Linked DNA regions of Homo sapiens: region 1 is linked to region 2. Evidence: promoter capture Hi-C in 16 types of primary human blood cells and fetal thymus (Javierre and others, 2016). All regions are on one chromosome and are shown on one strand. Each heading gives the region's core, a stretch centred on a gene start or on the middle of the fragment in contact. The rest is flanking DNA. Distances are from core to core; before and after follow the strand shown. Region 1 overlaps MECOM (MDS1 and EVI1 complex locus). Region 2 holds the start of MECOM-AS1 (MECOM antisense RNA 1).

The links. Contacts are between HindIII fragments. The CHiCAGO score rates a contact against its expected background, and 5 or more counts as called.
Region 1: a contact is called between a fragment that was not itself captured here and the fragment with the promoter of MECOM-AS1 in region 2, in 1 of 17 cell types (megakaryocytes). The highest score is 5.2, in megakaryocytes.

Annotation. Positions count from the first base shown.
Region 1 is chr3:169,153,275-169,157,000 of GRCh38, forward strand. All of the region lies in intron 2 of MECOM (MDS1 and EVI1 complex locus), which reads right to left. Among named protein-coding and RNA genes, the nearest start is that of LINC01997, 150 kb to the left of the region's middle. The HindIII fragment of the contact is 2,815 bases long and covers 413-3,227 here.
Region 2 is chr3:169,446,616-169,450,844 of GRCh38, forward strand. MECOM-AS1 (MECOM antisense RNA 1) reads left to right here and starts at 1,252. Exons shown (of 5, transcript NR_134932.1): 1 at 1,252-1,320. The region is part of intron 1 of MECOM (MDS1 and EVI1 complex locus); the gene reads right to left. The HindIII fragment of the contact is 2,681 bases long and covers 276-2,956 here.

The sequences.
Region 1 (3,726 bases), core at 570-3,069, 290 kb before region 2:
AATGATGAAAAAATAAATACAAAAACTGAGACAGTCACAAAAAATGCATAACATATCAATCTGGTTGTTCAGACAACTGGTTGTTTTATATCACTAGGAAAAATTTACTATTATCTTTTTATTTTATAAAAGATAACTTTGCTTACGATTATCATTAGTCTCAAAAGGTGAAATCCCTCATTCTTTTTAACTTCGGACTAAATTAGTGAGGTAGTAAGTGCTTTTGGAAAAAACCTCAACTCTATAAGGAATTCATTTTTCATTATTTTATTAATTTTAATTAATTCAATCTTTCAATATAGTATTTAGCACATTATGCAATAACTCCAGGATCAGATTCTTCCCTCGAGCTTTAGATACACCATCTAAGAGTGCTTTTAGACTCATAATCTTGTGGGGAAAGTTTGTTGGAAGCTTGATTTTCCTCCTCTCTCCACGCCTAGCTGTGTACCTTTGGGTAAGTCACTTAACCTTTGAGTTGGTTTCCATGACAGTTTCATAATATCAGACTATTACGAGTGTTGGGAAAATAAATTGGGTAACGTGAGTGTGAACTGCCCTGAGTTCATGGGAACAGGTCAAAATACTATAAGTTTCACAGTATTTGTGTTTGTGTAACGGGTTACAGTAAACTTACATACATGCACAATGAGGAAGATAGTCTGGCCTATACTTTGGGGAACAGCAAAGTGTAAGTAGTTTTGTTTCCTCTTTCTTCCATTCCAGTGTCAGTTGCCCTAATCCTTACCCTGACCTTGGAAGGGAAGAATTTTAAGAAAAGTGTTTTTTTTCTCTCAAGCTGTGCTACCCATGAAGATGTCCGTCTCTGTCTGGCTTGCAGCTGAGTTTGTTCTGTTCTACCCACTGTGTTCTCTGCCAGTCAGTAAGAGAGAGTATTCTGCAGCAAAGGTGGAATACCATTGAGTTCCAGAGCCCTAAAAACGAGGGTAGGAACACACACACACACATCTTGGACTAGTTTTAGGTCAATATTTGTTACCAAGGCCAGGAAATTTATTCTCTACAATGTCTCCTGGTAGACAGACTTTAAGTACCAAGAGGGCAGGAATTGGGTCTATCTTTTTTGCCCCTGTTGCCCAGAGTCTACCATAATGCATGACATCAAGTATTTAGTAGATGTTTGTTGAAAAAAAAATGGATCAGGTCCTTCCTTGACTTCCATTCTCACCTAGTTTGAATGCCTAATTTGGATGCCTGTTACCTCTAGTCTGAATTATTGCAATGATCTCCTGCCAGATCCTCTGACCACCATTCACTCTCCCACCAGTTTAAAGTCCTTGATGTTAATCCTCTCAACCATCTGCTGTTACTTATTCCCTTGCTCACAGTTTTTCAGTGAGTTCCGATTGCCTAACAATTCAGTATAAATTCATTCCATTTTTTTTGAGAATTCAATGAGGCAATGTAGGTAAATCACTTAGAATCATGAAGAGGATATAGGATATAGTCAATAGAAAATAGCTATTATTATTGGTATTGCTATTATAATTTTAATTGCTATCATTATTATTGCTCAGCCTATAATTTATTTTGCCTTGGTTATCATAGATAAAATCTTATCTATACTTCTAAACCAACCATTTTTTATGTCTGCTGATTTTTACCACCCAGGCTTGACCTTTCCATCCTTCAACCCAAATTATCTGTGCTTCTCTCCTGGTTTATAGCCAGTTCTTCCTTACTTACAGGTGTGTCTTTAATGCTCTTGTCCTCCTAAGGACCATTGTAAGATTTTTAAGGACGGAATCAAGTTTTGTTCCTACTGATATCTTCAATAACAGCTTTCCATCATAAACTAAACTGTCTTTGAGACTTTTTGTAAGAATAAATTAATTATGGCTAAATGTATGGGGAATTACTTTATTTACATCCAAGCAAAGTTGGTTACTTAACACTATTCCCCCTTAGGAATCAGTTGATGCAGTGATGATTCTTTTTCAGGGATTTAGAAAGGAATTCCTACCACTGCTGCCTCTCCAGATAGCACAATATTGCCATACTTGCCTTACCCCATGTTTCCATTTCTTTACCATCTCTCTCCTTTCTCTGGGCACAAATCCTGGACAGTATCTTGGACTCCTCTCCTTCCCTTGTCCCCAATAAATAGTCATTGGTTCAGTTGGTCTGTTAAACTGTTTCTACAGGGTGCTCATTTTCCCACTGGCACTGGTCTAGTGAAGGCTATTGTCCTTTTAGGCCTGAGTTTTTGTGGCATTTTTACACCAAACATTAGTCTTCCTAAAATAACAAAGTTATAACAATGCTTTGCTTTACCTAAAAACAAAAGGTAAAGAGCAAAAAACAGAAGAAAAACCGCACTAACAAAAACTCCAATGGATCCCAATTTGCTAGAAAATAAAGCCCCTAATCCAAAATGCAATCTCCTCTTTTACAATTTGATGTCAAATTTATCGTCTTTCTAGGCCCATTTCCTGCTTGTTTCCTCTACACAAATCTTTAGCACTGGTTAACAACTGGAAATATGAATAGAAGCTCTTGGCCCTTCAACTGTGCTGAGGTAGGTCCTTCACTTCTCTTACCTCTGACACTGACAGCGTTCAGGAGATGAAACAATAGATCAAGTAGGCAAAGTGATAGTTCCATTCATCAAGCTCCTGCAAAGCCTTCCAGGCCCTCTTTCTTGAAATTTTTACAGTATGTAATATTAAAAGCATTCACTAATTAGTCATTATTCTTAAAATAGTTTGGGATATTTCTGTGATCAGCCAATCTACCTGTATACTGTTTGATGGCAGGAAACATCCTTCACACCAGCATTTTCTAATTGGTTATTAGAAAAGTTATTATCAGATATTCCCTGGAAATTGGCTCTGAGGTCAACTCAGAGAGCTAACTTCACCCAATGGATAAAGATAGCTCCCTCTTGGAGCTTCACAATGAGCACCAATGTGCTAAATACACTTAAGTCTAAAACTCTAAAAGTCTAGGAAATCCTTTAGTAAAGAGACCTATTTGGCTTATTCGACCAGGCATCATCGTAGGTAATTAAACTTATGTGAAAGCCTCTCTCCTCTTCCACTGGAACACCTAAGGAAAACAATTTTGTAAATAAAGTTTTATATTACTTTGTTTCAGAAAAGCATAAATATTCCCCATACATATATTTTTCTATCAACTGACTGTTCTCAACTCTTGATAAAAAAAAGTCCCCACAAAACAGTCATAAATAAATAAAGACAAAATGAAGCTTCCACATTTTATTCAAATTGAAAGCATTTGGAAAGTCTATAAAGATCACAAAGAAAGTAGGTTATCAGTAAACTCTAGCCAATCGATCCTTTGCCTGTAAACTATTACAATTGTATTTGAGTACACGGCCTGAGAACCTTCCAAAGGAATATATACAATCTCATTTCAAGATCAACCCACTTCTTCCTATCCTCCTCCATTAAAAGTCCTTCCAAAGCAGAGATTTTTACCATGGGCATATTCACATGCAATGTTTTATATTATTTAGACTTTTCTTAATAAGATTTGGCATTATCTAGATATGCATTTCCCTAGGAGAAAGAAAAGCAGCAGTGCAATCTCCATCTAAGGATGCCTGAATTAAACCTTTAAGAATTCACCTTTTTTCCAGTTTTTGATATTAGATTCATGTGTTATGCCTGCCCATGACTGTCTAACCACGAAACTAACTGGACATTAAATCAGATGGCATACAAAATTACAGGAATTTGATCT
Region 2 (4,229 bases), core at 2-2,501:
CTGATAATTAAGTGGGTAGTAGTTATGTGTGTTGTGCGTTATCTTTATCTACCTTTATTATCTTAAATCCCACACCTGCACCCACTGTGAGGTCACTATTACTGTTTTTTCAGTTAAGGAAATAAAGACTGAGAGAGCTTCTCATGATCATATACCTGGTGTCAGAACCAAGATTTGAACCCAAGTCTGCCTGATTCAAAAGCCCATGCTCCTAATGACTATGCAGTGCTACTGCCCTCATCCCTATCAGGATGGCTTGTTCAGGGGGTGCACCAAGCTTTAGGCACTCCCTGCACATGCCATTGTGGTTCACTAAGTGGAAAATTAATTAACAGTTACTGAATTTTCAGTTATTTTTTTCAGTATAATTTTGTCAACAAATAAATACTTACAGGTCTAAGAATTTTTTATGTTATGAAAAGGGATCCTCATTGTAAAATATTGAAATCCAACTCCTTCATTTTATCTACAATCTAGAAGATTCTACATTAGTTCAAGTCGTCCTCATCCTTGAGATGTAAAAGAAATTGCTCTGAACCACCCAATTTCTTGACCCCTTGTGAAGATGTCTACAATTCCCAAGGGTGGAAGAATTAAGTCTTATTGGTGCCCTCTGCCACCCATGCCCTAGAGTTCTCCTGCTCCACCTCCATCTTCTCCTATAAAAATGCACCTTCTCATTCAGTAGCTAGAAGGTGGCCAGGCAAAGCAGGCATTTTGTAAATTTTAGTTGACTGGGGGAGGGAACAGATGAATAATGCAGGATGTGAGGCTTTGTAGGTTAAGATCACAAGAAGAGGTGGATGGTTATCTACTATCTCCCCCCACCAAGAACTTTTCTGACTCTGAGTTTGAGATGTCCAAAGAAAGGCAGAATCATACCTTTCTCATTGATTCTTATGTTTACAAAGTACCTTTATAAAGCGTCTACTGTGTTCCAGGTACCATGTTAATTTCTAGAAGTAAAAATGTCAACTCTGTCACTGTCTTCAAGGAATCCATAGTGGGAAGCAGAGCACACAAACAGATGTTTACAGCACAACATGATGAGTGGTTTATTACACACAAAGTATTCAGGAAACAACTAAGAGGAAGAAAAACCATCTCCACCTGGAAAGACTGGAAAGGCTACACACCAGAGCTCAAATTTGAAATACATCTCGAACAAGGATTTGGCCATGCCAAGACAGTTGAGTGGAAGGAAGTACATTCTAGGCAAAGAAAAAGCACAAATGTGACCTACAAATGAAAGATTGGTGAGTAACTCTGCATAGCTGGAATATAGGCATAAAAGAGAAGGCAAGAAATGAAGCTGAAATGGTAAGTCAGAAGTGTATTATTTAAACCCTTGTTTGTGGTGCTAAATGGCTGGGCAACTAGGAGTCATGGTGTGATCAGATCTGTAGTTTGGAAATTCAACTGGAAACTGCTATGGATGAGAGCTAGGAGAGGGGAGAAATTAGAAGCTATTATAGTGATGATGGCAACCAATGGTGAGGTGATCTTTAGGTCATCACTGGAACCTGACCTATAGTAGACATTCAAAAAATATTTTCATGTAATTGAATTTGTCTCATGAGCTCCTTGATCTAATATACTGAGCAACTAGCCTTGCTACCATATCTTGTAAAATGCCACTCGTGTTATACGTTGTGGGAATGCTTAGGTGCCTGACCAGGATTTTAAGAAGATATAGAACTAACTTAGTATTTATTTATAGGTCGCCCATCACATGCTAAGCATCTTCTATACATTATCTCATTTGTGCCACACAACAATCCTTCAAGACAGTGTTTTCACCATTTTACACAGGAGTAAAATGATGTTCAGAGTAACTAATAAACAAATTTATCCAACTAGGGGTAAAGCCAGATTTTTAATTCAGTGTACATCTAACTTCAAAGGCACCTGTAAATTTGGGATATTATGGCAAGAGAGGTACTGGTAAAGCCACATTATCTTTAATCAAATATTTTAGAATAGCATCCACAGGAGTGTGCATGTGAGACCCCTGGCCTGGGAAGAGGAGTTTGCATCCTGATTTCCTTTTTCACTGCATATGGCAGCAAACCATAATGAGTCAGACATTGTCATAACACATTGCATAATTCCAATGAAGCATTCACATCTCAACTACTCTTGATTATTTCCAATTCCGTAATAAATGAAAGAGATCAACTGTTCGGTGGTTTGAGGAGGGTGGAAAATCATTTAATTCTTAAGTACCATTAAATATTTAATACTATTATAAGGAGGTAATGTCACTTTCCATAATACATTTGGCTTCAGGTACACTGGAATCCAGATTTTGACACCTCCATACCATGATAAATTTTTGACCCTGAAATTTTATTTGAAATCACGACTCCAAAATCTCCTGTAGCCAATCTACCAGGAGTAGTATCTGTCAACAGAGAGAACATCATATAAAGACCTTAACATTTTGAAAGCAAAGCCAAATGAAGCTCAATCACGAAAGGTCTTTTCTTTCTTTAAGGTGAGAGATGGAGCACAAATGAAGCATACCATGGTAAATAGGAACTGTGCTCACTTGCAGTCATGCACTATAGCCATTAAGCCTTAAGGTCTTAAGGTACTAAGCAATGCATATGATAAATTTCTCAAAAACATCCCAGCCATAACATAGTTCTTGCTGATTGCTCATTTACCCATAATGCATGCTGTCATAGCAAAGCCTGACAAATGACAGAGAAAGCTCAGGTTATTTTTTACACTGACTGCCAAGCCCCTCACCTCAGATTATTCATTTATTAGGGCAATCACTGAGGTCTGGGTACTTAATATTGTTTTCACCAAATATGAAAATGATCTACTTGCCTATTCTTTAGTTCCTCCTAGGGCAAGCCATTTATCATCAGCTCAGGATAAATGACTGCTTCATTATAGCTATAATTTATGAGGTGTTAGAAGTAAAGAGCCACGCCTAGAGACTTAAAGCTTTAATATGGATTAAAATAAGATAATCAATCAAGCTAATACAAATTTTCCCTCAGCATTATTTCTTGTTTTGAAATAGCTTAATAATTTGGTGAGGTGGCGGTAAGCTATGTTGAATATCCCATTATCCAACTACATGCATGTATGTCTGAGACAATACGTAAAGAAATATAGGATGTGATACCATCGGAAAAAAAGAAATACAATGAAACCATCAGCTGTAATTGGCTGAAATCCTCACTTTCCTTAATGGTGTCAAACTGGAGACCAAAGAATTACAAAGCAGGTGTAAACTTGGGTAGCATATTCCCTCTAATTCTTTTTCCTCTGTAAGAATATTGTAGAAAGATTGCTGCTGTTTTACTTTTCCTTATTCTCTCTACAACAAAGAAACACTGGGGAGAAAAGTTATGTCCCAATAACATGTCAACAATTTTGCTTTCTTTTATGTCTGAAGGTTTCACAACTCATAATTTGGACAAGAGCAGCTTCTTACTCTGTCTAGGGAATAAAGAATATTTCCCTCTAAAATGGCATTACGGACTTTAAAGAAATTTTTTCTGGTTTGCATCTCAATTTTATAGTTATTAGGCTATGCCAGAACAAATATTATTTCTGAAATATGTGTCATGCTCAAGACACTAACGTAAACCTATTTGGCCACTTGAGTGAAAAGCTTTGAAGACTGTACGGGAAATTCACGATTTAGTACTTTAAACACACAGCACCAGGAAGAAAATCACCACAAGAATTAACAAATCAGCAGTCTAAAGCCAAAGACTCCAAGGTGCTAATTAAAAAAGCTTCCAAAAGTTCTTGTTATTTTTTTTAAGGCCATGTTCCTTGCAGGTGAGACAAATAGGCCCCTGCTGCCTCCAAGCAAATCTTGAAGGAAACTTCCAGCAAGGCCTGGTGACTGGAAACTACTCAGCCTTGAAATTAACATCCCTAAGAAAAACCTTTTCCACTCCCTCTAGACAACAGCAGCTTACATCTTCAGGACAAAACGAAAAAAAAAAAATGATGACAAAAAAGAGGCCAGAGAAGACAGTTGGAGTAGTCACGCTGTGTTCTCTTGAAGGGAGCCTTCATTCTTTACCTCAGAGAGAGAGCGTGAAAACACACAGATCCTGACAATGGATTTAGTCAACGTGGCCAATCTCCCTACTTCCTTACACGTACATACCACTGAGTTTACCTTAAAAAAGTAAAAGCAGAAATTTTCACAAAAGCTGTGCATCAGGAGCTGTTATTACAAATGAGGCCAAGGC